Linked DNA regions of Homo sapiens: regions 1 and 3 are each linked to region 2. Evidence: promoter capture Hi-C in 16 types of primary human blood cells and fetal thymus (Javierre and others, 2016). All regions are on one chromosome and are shown on one strand. The core of a region is centred on a gene start or on the middle of the fragment in contact, and the rest is flanking DNA. Distances in the headings are between cores, read along the strand shown.

What was found. The method cuts DNA at HindIII sites, captures the fragments that hold promoters and counts their contacts. A CHiCAGO score of 5 or more calls a contact.
Region 1: the fragment with the promoter of ITGAX here is called in contact with the fragment with the promoter of ZNF267 in region 2 in 3 of 17 cell types (neutrophils, monocytes and megakaryocytes); the score reaches 11.3 in neutrophils.
Region 3: the fragment with the promoter of PYCARD here is called in contact with the fragment with the promoter of ZNF267 in region 2 in 17 of 17 cell types (activated CD4 T cells, naive CD4 T cells, naive CD8 T cells and 14 more); the score reaches 31.1 in activated CD4 T cells.

What each region holds. Positions count from the first base shown.
Region 1 is chr16:31,353,919-31,358,461 of GRCh38, reverse strand. It overlaps ITGAX (integrin subunit alpha X), which reads right to left and starts at 3,286. Exons shown (of 30, transcript NM_000887.5): 1 at 3,171-3,286; 2 at 2,464-2,569; 3 at 1,734-1,837; 4 at 1,361-1,431; 5 at 1,098-1,209. The coding sequence starts at 3,207. RefSeq lists enhancers at 3,515-3,704, 3,895-4,024. The HindIII fragment of the contact is 18,983 bases long and covers 1-4,543 here.
Region 2 is chr16:31,872,424-31,877,308 of GRCh38, reverse strand. ZNF267 (zinc finger protein 267) reads right to left here and starts at 3,502. Exons shown (of 4, transcript NM_003414.6): 1 at 3,340-3,502. The coding sequence starts at 3,342. RefSeq lists silencers at 3,221-3,300, 3,451-3,500 and an enhancer at 3,387-3,681. The HindIII fragment of the contact is 12,710 bases long and covers 1-4,885 here.
Region 3 is chr16:31,200,064-31,204,390 of GRCh38, reverse strand. PYCARD (PYD and CARD domain containing) reads left to right here and starts at 1,631. Exons shown (of 3, transcript NM_013258.5): 1 at 1,631-1,974; 2 at 2,188-2,244; 3 at 2,550-2,905. The coding sequence starts at 1,701. The coding sequence ends at 2,806. It overlaps PYCARD-AS1 (PYCARD antisense RNA 1), which reads right to left and starts at 2,506. Exons shown (of 2, transcript NR_102400.1): 1 at 2,405-2,506; 2 at 939-1,931. RefSeq lists a silencer at 1,281-1,640 and enhancers at 1,751-1,980, 2,170-2,800. The HindIII fragment of the contact is 5,508 bases long and covers 451-4,327 here.

The DNA of each region.
Region 1 (4,543 bases), core at 2,037-4,536, 520 kb after region 2:
CCAAGCTACTTTGTATTTTATATTTATTTTTTGTAGAGATGAGGTCTCACTATGTTGCCCAGGCTGGTCTCAAACTCCAGGCCTCAAACAACCCTCTTGCCTTGATTGTTAATATTTTAAACAAATCATCCCAGGCAACAGCCACACACTGGGCCTGTTCTGTTCTCAGCTTAAATACAGGCCCCCACTCCCCTCCTGTGTGAAGTTAGCATCTGTCCTGAGAAGAGACGATCTTCCAGCACCTGGAGAGGAAACCCCCTTCCATGTGACCTCTCAAGCATCCCCTCTGCCCCAGAGGCCTCCACCGGAGAGACAGGTGTCCTGGGCATTCTGATGGGTGCCCAGGCCCCTGTGGATGGAGTCTGGACCCACGGAGGTGCTGGAAGGCACACCCTATTTGCAGCCAGATGTCAGTCTCACCAAAGGCTTGAGAGCAAATGTGAAACCAGGGGGAGGCCTCAGCCTGCCAAAGCCCACTGTTTTGCTTCCTTATCTTTCTTCCCCATCAGCACCAGGGAAGTCAGGCCCTGCGTCTCAACCTGCATGTGCACACGCACACACACATACATGCACACACATGCATGTACATGTGTGCATGTGCACATGTATACACATGCATACATATACACACATGTACACACACACACGTTGCTCACACTGCACTTTCACTGACCTTTCCTAAACTACGGCACAAACCAATTGGTCATATCCCAGGACCCATTGGATGAAAATAGATCCTCTCCTCTAAAAATAACAACAGCTGGCCTTCATGGGGCTGTCGCCTGGTGCTAGCTGCTGTGCTAACCCCTGGCCATGAATCATCCTGTGTTGCTTTCAGTGCTGGGTGTGTTATTATCCCCATCCAACAGATGAAGAAACTGAGGCTTGGAGAGGTTAAGGTCACAGGAAAGGTCCGGCAGCGTGCGGGCGATCGGCAGGATGTGCGGGCAGCAGCGTCAGGAACCACTGCAACACGTGGTAACTCTTTTTCCAGATCCCTTCTTTCTGATCCACTCTGGCAAGACTGTCTCTAGCCCACCGCACCCCCAATTGGATGTGCGTGAGCTCCTCAAAGCCTTGGTGGTCCCGACACTCACCCTGCCTGGACACCGGGAGCCTCTGGGTGAGCTGGGTGGGGCCCAGGAGGAAGCAGAGTCCGGTGAGGTACATGTTCCTCCCGCACTCGTGGTGCACGGTGGGGCCGCAGGCCTGGGGACACAGCGGGCTGCTGGGGGGCTGCCCCTGCTTCCTCCCACCCTCACATTCCGGAACCTCCACCCTACAGGAGACTCCCAGCCCCCCGCGGCCCCGGCTCCTCCCTCCCTCCCTCAGAAGCCTCCTGTGACCCAGGGCCACTCACCAGCAGCTGGGAAGGGCTGGTGGTAGACGCCAGGGACAGGCCCAGGGACATGTTCACGGCCTCCGGGGGCACTGTGGGGACAGATATGTGCATGGTCACTCTCGGGGGTACAGAGAAGGCTGTGGAAGAGCTGGGCAGGGGTCACCTCCACCTGGGAGACAAGGAGGTCTGACGGTGAAGGAAGCTGTCGGGTCTTGACAGAGCTGCGGGAGTGCGATGGGCGGGGAGGCCTTAAGGGGCCAGGAAGCATATCTGAGGGTGAGGGTCTCAGACACAGTGGAAGCTGAAAGTGACACTCCGGTGAGTCCACGGGCCCCTGGAGCAGGGAAGCCTGGGAGCCCGGCCCTGGGTCCCGGGAGGGGCGGTGACTCACCCTGCAGGCCGATGGGCTCACAGGCACCAGTGCTGTAGCCACACTGGTAGAGGCCACCCGTTTGGTTGGCAGCTGTTATCTTTTGGGGGGCTCCAACCACCACCCTGCGAGGAGACAAAGAACACTTTAGGTAAGAGTGTGGACGCTGCAGCACAGCTGCCACTCCGGCAAGTTTGCGTTCCCTCCCTGAGCCTCAGCTTCCTCATCTGCAAGATGGATTTTAATAATTTAAAGTCCATGTGGAAGGGATTTCTGTCTGTTGGATTCTCTGGCGTATGGAGACAAGAAATATTTGTTGAGTCTGGGTGTGGTGGCTCACACCTGGAATCCCAGCACTTTGGGAGGCTGAGGCGGGAGGATTGCTTGAGCCCAGGAGTTTGAGACCAACCCAGGCAACATAGTGAGACCCTGTCTCTATATATTTTTAAATGTATAGAAAAAAAGAAAGAAAAAACAAATAAGTGTTTGTTGCACGACTGATTCCTACTCACAGGCTGTCGTGTGGACTAAATCAGCATCCACCTGTGATGAGCCTGGCACTGCACTTACTGCTCTGTAAATGTTAGCTGTGAGACCGTGCCTGCCTTCAAGGCAAATCTTCATTAGCCAGGGCAGTCGCTACACCAGACAGAGAGGAGAGTTTGCAAATAACAGGGCAGGGCCGGGGGCATGGGGCCCTGAGCAGGGAGAGGATGGATGGAGCCAAAGGCCAGCACCACCTGGGCCTCACCAGGAGTTGGCATACTGGACCACGCTGTCTCCAAACCCAGCGCTGTCCACACGGAAGGCTGTCAGCTCCTCTGTGTCCAAGTTGAAACCTAGAGAAGTTGCTAAGGCTGGGAAAGAGGTGGGAAGAGAGCTTTGGAGAAGGGTCTTCCTTCTGCCTGGCTGCCCTCCACCCCCGGCCCCAGCGTCCCAATCTCCCCTCCGAGCCTGATGCCCGGGGTGCCTGGGTCTTCTGGACACCCAACTCATCCCCTTCTCTCCTTCCCAGGGTCCAGGGATGCCCCTTGCCCACCATCCACTATCGAGTTGCAGTTCTCCATTTCTGCAGAGCAGTACCCAGGCTCTAAAAAGGATCTTTCCCCAACGTGCACCTCGGGCGCTATGAGAGTGAGTCCAGGAAAACTTGCGGACCAAAGCATCCTGTCCACAGAGCACAAGTTGGCGCATTCTGCCTATTTTAAAAATCTCTGCAGTACAGAGACAACTGGCCTCTCTTCCAGCATCTCTGGAACTCTCCCAAAATTGGTTCATCAATATCCTCTCCCTCCACAAACTCCAAATCTCAGACCCTATGTGCCTGCCTCCCCCTCAGGCTTGACTGAGTCTCTCTTCCTACCCAGATCCTAACCCCCCAGCCTGAGCCCCCAGTTCAGGGCCCTGGCTCCCTTGGGCCTGGGTCCCCAGCCCTACTTCATTGGGGTCCAGGCTCACCTGTGAACAGGAGGAGTGCTGCCCTGGTCCTGGTCATGACTAGAAGGTCAGATGTGGAGCTCTGAGCTCCTGGGCCGTTGCAGGAAGAGCTGGACCAAGGTACTGAGGAAGCAAGTGGGCAGAGAGGTGGCCAGGGGAAGGAAGAAGATTGTCAGCATGAGTCAGAGGGGGCGGGCAGAGTACGCAACTGATCCGAGGACAGGCTCGGCCTCCCACACGCCCCCACCCCCCAACCGGAGTCACTCTCATCAGATGACTTGGCTTGATGCCCTTTGCTTAGATGGATGCAAATCCCTGCCCTGCCCCTCCCAGGCTCACCCTTGACTGCCAGAAGGCACCCCTTGACCTTGAAATTTCAGCCAGACTGGAGGGGGTTTGGGCAGATGCCAACCCCTCAGGACCCTAAAGGAAACCCTGGTGGGAGCCCTCCACTCTGACCTGGAAAGTCTGGGCCAAGGAGTGGGGCATCCGGGTCCCTAGGAGGAGCACAGAGCGAGTATTTGTTCATTCATTCATTCACTCATTTATTCATCATTTATTCAAGAAGCCTAATTTGAGCCTGGAGATGCAAGCCCTCTGCTAGGTGGGGAAGAAAATATAAACCACAAAGCACCAGCCCTGGGGTCAGTGGAGAGGCAGATGTATAAACAGCAAGTTCATTGCTGTGAGGGGGAAGCACAGAGACCACAGGGTGCCTCACCCGGGTTGTGAAGGTGTGGCTTTCTGAGAAGGCTTCCTGAAAGAGGTGGTGCTTGAGCTGAGCATTGAAAGCAACCAAAGTTGGGAGATGACAGAGCAGCCAGACATGGATGAGGCAGGGGACAGGAGGGTCTGTGTGTGAAATCAGCAATGGGAACCAGACAGTCAGGGTGGGAAGTTGTAAGAGACAAGGTCAGGGCCACTGGGAGGAAAGCAAGGGGAAGCAGGCCTCAGGCCGTGGAAGCCCCCCTAATGTACATCAATTTTTTTTTTTAATTTCAGAAACAGGGTCTTGCTCTGCCACCCAGGCTGGAGTGCAGTGGGTGCATAGTTCACTGCTGCTTCGAACTCCTGGGCCCAAGGGATCCTCCTGCCTCAGCCTCCTGAGTAGCCAGGACTATAGGATTGCACCACTGCACCTGAATATATATATATATTTATATATATATATTTTTTAATTTTAGTAGAGACAGAGTTTCCCCATGTTGGCCAGGCTGGTCTCAAACTCCTGATCTCAATCAATCCTCCTGCCTCAGCCTCCTAAATTGCTGGGATCACAGGTGTGAGCCACCACACCTGGTGAAGACACATTGATTTTGTCCTGAGAGTGGAGGACAGCATTGAAGGGAATTCATGGGGACTGAGATCTTCACATTTTCATTTTAGAAAGTGGG
Region 2 (4,885 bases), core at 2,253-4,752:
TTCTTACCTAAACCTGAATTTGTTTTATTTGACAAAATCAAATAAAATGTGGGGAAGGAACTGGAAACTTAATATTTTACTGCAAGCCTCAGTCTGGGGGAACACAGTGGTAGATTTGAGACTCTGCGTGCCACACATTAGGAAAACACAGGGGGAAAACCAGTTGTCGGGTGGGGGGAGTGTTAAAATGATTAATGAGTAGGCGACTATATGGAAGTGGTTGTAGTGCCCTGGGTTTCTGGGAAGAAAAACCAAAATCAGGACAATCACAATTTCTACCCTCAGAAAGAGCCTCCCAACCCTCCTTCCATCCCAACCCCAAATGCCTCTTTCTGTGGATTTTCAGCTTTCAGCTTTCCAGGGCTCTGTAGCTTCTCAGTATAAAGGGCTCCTTCCATGGATGGGGTGAGCAGGCTGGGAAACCTGCAGGGGAAACTCCCCTGGAAGAACTAACTGGGCTTCAGTGACCTCTTCTTGCAGGCTCAAGACCAGGTTAGTTTGCACTCTCTGAGCTCAGGCTTCTGCTTCCCAGTCAGGGTTATTCAATTAGTATTCAATGAGAATGCCCAGTGTTGGAAGAAAGCAAAACTACTCAAACAGTGTTTATAGAATAAAGGAAAGTGAAACGCCTTTATAATTTATACCTCAACAGAAAACACTAAAGTATCTATCCCTTTCAGACAATAAATAGGCCACTTACTTATTTCCATGATAACAGATCATTTAGTAAATAATCATATATAAACAATTCTAGCCAGTGCTACGTTCAGCATTAAAGCCATACATCCAAGGCCAGGCATGGTGGCTCATGCCTGTTATCCCAGCACTTTGGGAGGCCAAGGCGGGAGGATCACTTGAGCCCAGGAGTTTGAGACCACTCTGGGGGCAACACAGTGAGACCCACATCTTTACAAAAAGAAAAAACAAAATAGCCAGCCATGGCGCAGCACCCCTGTAAGTCCCATCTACTTGGAAGGCTGAGGTGGGAGGATCACTTGAGCCCAGGAGGTTGAGTGAGCTGTGATCACACCACTGCACTTCAGTCTGGGTGACAGAGGAGAGATCCTGTCTCCAAAAACAAAAAATAAAAAATAAACTCAACATCCAGACAAGAGGATAAAGAACAAAGATATCCACTGTCATAACTTCTTCACCCTACAAAAAAAAGAAACTGATGTTTTGATGAAACTATGTAATTCACCAATTTACCACACGTTGTTGTGAAAATGTATTCACTTTCTACAGCCAATAATGAAAGAAAGATTTTCTCTGTTTCTTTTCCCTGGCAGCATTTCCAAAAGGTGAGCCCTGAGATTCTGTTTTAAATTACTCCCAAAAAAAGAACAAACCTGAGAAACTTACTACACTCATTCTGCTGAAAAAAAAGATAGTAAGAATTTTTAACAATGAAGTATGACTTGATATTTTAATTTTCTGAAATCCACCTTTCATGGCCTTGGAAATGTTTTTTATCTTTCAAGCTCTACTGATGAAATTTACACTAACTGAAAAACTGAAGTAGAAATAAATGAACAATCTAAGGCAGCAAACTCAGGGAGTGGTAATGCTGTTGGAATACAGACATATCTGGCTCAAGTGTCAAGTCAGGTCACGGTATCATTTGAGACATTCTCCTACCCCAATACTGCTCATTAAAATGCTCAGGGACCATCCTCCCAGATCCTGCACTGTGCCCCATGGACACCGCAGCCGAGTTTGCACCACCTCACTGGGGTGGGGTTTTTGTTTTTTGGTCCTTTGGGAGTTTTTCTCCCTTCACAAATCTGAATGAATCTAGGGGGCAGGAATCATTTGTGACTGTTTCCCCTCAATACCAGCAAACGATTGGCTGACCAGCAATGTGTCTCCAAGGGATGAAAACTAGCTTTGAAGAAATAAAATCCTTATGTCCCAAGGGGTTATCTTTTTAGGTTAAGGGTGTCCCAGGAGATTTCTCTCAGCCCCAGGGCATCCAGCTGCTCCCCTGAGGGACTACATTTCCATACCTTGGGCGGTCCTCTAACAGGAGGTGACCTGGGGCTGACAGTCACTAAACACTCCAGGAGACATGGCCACTGTGGGCATCTTGAGTCATCCCAGACAGTTCTGAAATTCAGGAACAGGAAAAGACTGGATAGAGGGTGGCTATACAGGGCCCTGTAAAGTTTCCAAAGCAAAACCTCAAGTCAAAAGACATTCTTTCCGATAACGTGTCTGTGCCTGGGGAAGATGAATGAAAAAGAGGCACAGTTTTTTTTGCAGTGGAGTGTCAGGGATTTTTTATTCTCTGCTTTCCTCTCACGTGAAATGTATGCCAAAAAAACACAAATCTTTAAAAAAGTGTCATCCACTGCTCTGTGAAATCATGATTAATGAGTAAAATACTGTCTGAAATGTACAATAAATGACCAATAGTTAAGAATGTGAACTGGAGAGGGGAAGTTGGCCTTTGGAAATGTCGGGAAGGAACTGGAAATTTAATATTTTATTGCAAGCCCAGTTAGACTGGGGGAACACAGTGGTGGACTTGAGACTCTGCGTGCTACACGTTAGGAAAGCGCAGGGGGAAAACCAGTTCCCCTGGGCAGTGTTAAGATGATTAATGAGCAGGCGATTATACGGAAGTGGTTATAGTGCCCCAGGTTTCTAGGGAGAAAAACCAAAACCAAACTCAAATGCTTTTCTTGTAAATTACAACTTTAGGGGAAAACAAAATTCAGACTTAACGAACCACAAAGCTCCAATTCACCTCCACCTGCATAGTCTAAATAAGGCAACTACAAACTGTAACCCATCGGTTAATTTGGTCTGCTTCCTCATGCACCTTATAAAAACCTTTCCTTCAAGCCCCTCTGGGGATCTCCGAACCACAAACCAGGACTGCAGGCTTCCCATGTCACAAATCGCTATTTGCTCAAATTCTTCAACGTTTTAACAGTGACTCCCTTTAATTCTTAAGAGGAGTAGTGACTGAGGACCCCACAGGGCACGGTTTCTTCCCACACACCGAACCTGGGTCTCCCCTGAGACGCTCCCGTCCTCACCGCACAATCTGGGGGAGACGCGGGGCTGCGACGCGGAGCTGCCCAGAGAGGGCTCCGGCCAGGGACGAGGTCGCTCTGCGGGGTCGGGATGGGACAGGACACGCGGGGTCCCGGCTGCCGGCCTGGCCGCCATCTTGCAGCGGAGGGGACCGAGGGCCGAGCTGCACCAGTTGGGACTCGGGGCCCAGACCCCGAGGCTGACTGCGGGGAGGCCCGGGTGCCCCTACAGCGGGTTCCCGCCGCTTCCGACCACCGCCCTCCCTCCCTCTGGGGACCCCCGACCCCGCACACTCACCATTTCCCAGCTTCCGGGATGCCCTGGCGTCTTAGCTACGAATCTCCCAGTGCCTGCAAGTCGCAGAGCAACAGAGGTTCTGTTTATTCTCAGAACGCGAAGCCGCCTGGGCCTCCCAGAACGAAAGACTCGGAGCTGTGGCGAGGAGACCCGAGCTCTAACTGGAGCCGACGAAGGCCCCCGCCAAATCCCGGAAGCCGCCCCTGCTCTCCGGCTTCACTCCTGATTGGACGGTTTCCACTCCAGCGCCCCTGATTGGATAAAGCTCCATGCCCCGCCCCCTCATTATTAGTGCCTTTTTTTTTTTTTTTTTTGAAAGGGAGACTGGCTCATTGAGGTGGGGCCGCCTGCTGCGGGTATTACAGCTAATTAAGGGGTGAGCTGCGACTTGAAATACACTTGCTCTTTCCCTTACCTGGTTCTGCTTGTATAAGACATCTTATTAGCTAATTAAGTTTAAGAAGAAGTATATTTAGACACCTTTAAAGCAAGAAAGACCCTCATCCCGTCCCTTAGCACCTCTCTTACCGCACTGTACCCCACTGCTAACGCCACCGTGGGAGGGGGCCCCTCAGCTGGGAACAGAAGGCCGTACACTTCATTCACGTGTTTTCAATTAGGCCCTCGCATGATACATAGACTGAACCAGTGCAAAAGCATCTTATAGGGGCATGCAGGCTGGGGTCCCAGGAGGATGTTGCGGGCCGTGGTGGAACGTGGAAGAGGGGCTGGCCTATTCTTCTAATCTACAACTCTGCCCGCATCTCCTGGAGTCTGCATCACTGGTAACGGGGCCGCTGACTGTCCGTCTGTCTCTCCTTCTCAATCCCTTCAAGCTCAGGGAAGAAGGGTCCTTGGCAGCGACAGGGCTGGGAGCTCAGTTCCTCTGGGCCGTGCTGGCTCAGGCTCTGTGGCCACGGACTCCTCAGCCCTACCTCTGGTTTTTGCTTTTGTTTTGAGACAGGGTCTCACTCTATTGCCCAGGCTGGTGCAGTGGTGCAGTCATGGCTCACTGCAGCCTCCGGGGCTCAAGCAATCTTCCCACCTCAGCCTCCTGAGTAGCTGGGACTACAGGCACATGCCACCATGCCCGGCTGATTTTTGTATTTTTTGTAGAGATGAGGTTTCACCATGTTGCCCAGGCTGGTCTCCATCTCCTGAGCTCAAGCGATCCTCCCACCTTAGCCTCCCAAGTAACTGGGGCTACAGGTTAATAGTCAGTTCGCCAACTCCTGAGCTCAAGTATTCTGTCTGCTTTGACCTGCCAGAATGCCCTATTCCTGTTTTTCTGGAGTCTTGGAGCTAGTGGCGCTGCAGCACCTCGTAGTCTTCCGGCTGAGTAGATTCTCCTAGTCTTCTGGCTGAGTAGAAGGTGGGAGAGGAGGTGGGTGTCAAACTGGGCCAGGGCCCTCGGCCGCCATCTAGCTTGGTTAAACTCCCACTTGGGACAGATCAGGCTCTGTGCCTTATTCAGTGAGACGTGTGGAACAAATGCTTCCCTCCCCAAAGCAGAAACATCCCTGATTGCTGACAGTCAGGATTCCAT
Region 3 (4,327 bases), core at 382-2,881, 670 kb after region 2:
GTTTCGCTCTTGTTGCCCAGGCTGAAGTGCAATGGTGTGATCTCAGCTCACTGCAACCTCCACCTCACGGGTTCAGGCGATTCTCCTGCCTCAGCCTCCCCAGTAGCTGGGATTACAGGCACCTGCCACCACGCCCGGCTAATTTTTGTATTTTTAGTAGAGATGGGGTTTCACTCTGTTGGCCAGGCTGGTCTCAAACTCCTGATCACCCACCTCGCCCTCCCAAAATGCTGGGATTACAGGCATGAGTCACCGTGCCCGGCCCATCCTGGTTGTCTTGTTTGTTTTTGAGACAAGGTGTCTGTTGCCGAGTGGCACAGAGTGCAGTGGCACAATCATAGCTCACTGCACCCTCAACCTCCTGGGCTCAAGTGACCCTCCGGCCTCAGCCTCCCAAAGCACTGAGATGACATGCGTGATGAGCCACTGCACCCAGCCATGCTGGAAGCTTTTGAATACAACATGCTGCAGGCATCACAGCCTCATTCATTCCTTCACTCAGCAAATCTTTACTCAGCACCTAATGTGTTCCAGATACATTTTTTTTTTTCAGATGGAATCTAGCTCTGTCACCCAGGCTGGAGTGCAGTGGTGCAATCTTGGCTCACTGTAGCCTCTGCCTCCGAGGTTCAAGCGATTCTCATGCCTCAGCCGCCCTAGTAGCTAGGATTACAGGCGCCCTCCACCACACACAGCTATTTCCAGGTACATTCTTGACGCTAGGAATTCAGCAAAGAATAAGACAGTTAAGGTCTCCGATGCTCATAGGCCTCACATTTTAGAGAGGGATGAATGTCCAATAAGCATATAAACGTATAATATGTCAGGGTCGTATGACTACAAGGAACAGTGATTGTTACAACCCAGATGAGAGGGAAAAATAAAGGATTCCAAATATCCCCCTTGGGAAGTAGAGTCAGGATTCAAACAAAGAACTGTATGGCTTCAAGTTCATGGTCTTTAATCTCCTGGAGGCTGTCTCTCTTTCTTTTTTCTTTTTTTTAATCAGTGTTGGGATCAAATTCTGGCTCCCCTAGGAAGCATCTGGCAAGGTTTCGGGAGCCATCGGGTTGGCCATGTTATGCTGGAATATTTATAAGCACCGGAGGGTTATCCCCATGTCGTAGAAAATGAAACTGAAGCTCAGAGAGATTTGCACTCTCTGCCCTTTTGTACAACTCATTTTTCCCCAGTATGTGGAATTGAGGGAGCTTCACGCTTCTAGCTGTCATGATTCCAAGATTCTACGACATGTGGGAGAGGATCCTAAGGTTCGGGGAACCGCGGAGGTTTCGGGGTTCTAGAAATCCGAGGTTCTAAGCCTAGGTGCTCCAATAAACCCAGTGAGAGCCAGCCCAGGTTTCCGGTCTGTACCCGCTGGTGCAAGCCCAGAGACAAGCAGGCGCCACCCATGAGCCCCTCTGCGGCCCCCTCCCGGGTCCCACCTCGCAGGCCAGCTGGAGGGCGCGATCCTGGCGTCCCCCGACGGCCTGGGGCCCCAATCCAGAGGCCTGGGTGGGAGGGGACCAAGGGTGTAGTAAGGAAGCGCCTTTTGCTGGAGGGCAACGGACCGGGGCGGGGAGTCGGGAGACCAGAGTGGGAGGAAGGCGGGGAGTCCAGGTTCCGCCCCGGAGCCGACTTCCTCCTGGTCGGCGGCTGCAGCGGGGTGAGCGGCGGCAGCGGCCGGGGATCCTGGAGCCATGGGGCGCGCGCGCGACGCCATCCTGGATGCGCTGGAGAACCTGACCGCCGAGGAGCTCAAGAAGTTCAAGCTGAAGCTGCTGTCGGTGCCGCTGCGCGAGGGCTACGGGCGCATCCCGCGGGGCGCGCTGCTGTCCATGGACGCCTTGGACCTCACCGACAAGCTGGTCAGCTTCTACCTGGAGACCTACGGCGCCGAGCTCACCGCTAACGTGCTGCGCGACATGGGCCTGCAGGAGATGGCCGGGCAGCTGCAGGCGGCCACGCACCAGGGTGAGCCGCCCCCGTTCCCCTCCACCCCGTCTTTCCCCTCCACCCACACCAGCGCTTACCCCGCGGGCTCTTCCGCTTTCTGTTCCTCCTACCCCTAAACAAAGCTGCTCTACCGGAAAGGAGGCTCCCCACGCTTGGCCTACCGACCAACGGGACCCCGGCCCCACGGCGGGAAGGGAAGGGAAGGGGATCACTTGGCCCATATCCTTCCAGGCTCTGGAGCCGCGCCAGCTGGGATCCAGGCCCCTCCTCAGTCGGCAGCCAAGCCAGGTGAGGCCTCCACACCCAGCCCGGCCCCACCGCACTCCTGCACAGCCTGCATCTGTGCTCCCGCAACCAGGGCAGGGCAGGGCAGGGCAGGCACGGCTTGGCAACCCTGCGCACCCCACCCACCAACCCACACCCTGCGGGGGAAGGGAGACAATATTACCCTCATCCCACTGCATGTGGGGTCCTGGTGGCCGCCCCCTGGAGCCCTGCCCCTAGGCTTGCAGAGGAATTCCTGAAGAACTCAAGTTCAGCAGGGACAGGCCCCACACCCTGGCTGCTGGCTCATGTTCTCCTCCCACCCCCAGGCCTGCACTTTATAGACCAGCACCGGGCTGCGCTTATCGCGAGGGTCACAAACGTTGAGTGGCTGCTGGATGCTCTGTACGGGAAGGTCCTGACGGATGAGCAGTACCAGGCAGTGCGGGCCGAGCCCACCAACCCAAGCAAGATGCGGAAGCTCTTCAGTTTCACACCAGCCTGGAACTGGACCTGCAAGGACTTGCTCCTCCAGGCCCTAAGGGAGTCCCAGTCCTACCTGGTGGAGGACCTGGAGCGGAGCTGAGGCTCCTTCCCAGCAACACTCCGGTCAGCCCCTGGCAATCCCACCAAATCATCCTGAATCTGATCTTTTTATACACAATATACGAAAAGCCAGCTTGAACTTGTGTGTTTTCCTGCTTCTAGCCTGCTGGCATGTGCAGAGCTCAGCTATGCTTCAGAGGCCACCCAGCCTCCAGCTCCATGTCCCTAGGGTCTCTGGCACCCCAAATGCTTCCCCCATCCTTCCTGGTATCGCCATGGAATATCCCTCCTCATTCACCAGGTGGTGCTCCTCCAGTGCTCCCTAAAGGGTCTAACCTTACCATTATAGATAACAGCCTGTGACCCAGGTCCGAAGGTTAAAAGAGGCATGTACCAAAGGGCGCAAACTGGTGGGCAGCTCTGTCCAAGCCATTTAGAAACACACTAGTCTTCATAGCTCCCCTACCTTCCACATTTTCCACTGGAGAAAAATGCAGAATTAGAGAAATTTGCAGGGGGAGACACATTAGAGCATTATCTAAACATAGGACAGAAGAGCACAAGTCACCAAATTGCTCGAGGGCTCCTTCTGGTGCTGGCTCTTAACAGGCTTAAAGGCTCCCTCTGCCCCACCCCATCCCGTGGGGGAAAGGGTCATAGGTTGCACTTTGCTCAAAAAACATGCCAACCACCAAAGCAGATTTTCAGGAAATGAGTTGTGTGTGGTAGCTGCCTCTTTTCTTGATGCGATTTTTTTGGAGGGTTATTACTTATTCATTCATTTGAAAGGAACATTTAAAACTTTTTTTTTGAGATGGAATCTCGCTGTGTCACCCAGACTGGAGTGCAGTGGCGTGACCTCAGCTCACTGCAACCTCCACCTCCCAGGTTCAAGCTATTCTTGTGCCTCAGCCTCCCGAATAGCTGGGATTACAGGCCCCTGCCACCACACCTGGCTAGTTTTTGTGTTTTTAGTAGAAACAAAGTTTCACCATGTCAGCCAGGCTGGTCTGGAACTTCGGACCTCAAGTGGTCCACCCGCCTCCACCTCCCAAAGTGCTGGGGTGCTGGAATTACAGGCGTGAGCCAATGCACCCGGCCACTTTTTTCTTTTTTTTTTTTTGAGACGGAGGCTCACTCTGTCACCCAGGCTGGAGTGCAGTAGCATGATCTCAGCTCACCGCAACCTCTGCCTCCCAGGTTCAAGCAATTCTTGTGGCTCAGCCAGTCAAGTAACTGGAATTACAGGTGCTTGCCACCCCACCCGGTTAATTTTCGCATTTTTAGTAGAAACGGGATTTTGCCACGTTGCCCAGGCTGGTCTCAAACACCTGACCTCCAGTGATCCATCCACCTCAGCCGCCCAAAGTGCTGGGATTACAGGTGTGAGCCACCGGGCCCACCTTCTTGATGCAATTTTTGCCTACAAAGGGAAATATGAGTATCTCTCTCCAGGAAACTTGAGGTCTTTCCAGAGGCTGTTTGGGAAAGCAGGAATCTAGGGCTACTTCCTAAGTACACTTTACAAGCAATCCTTTCTGGCCTTGAAGAGGGAGGATTT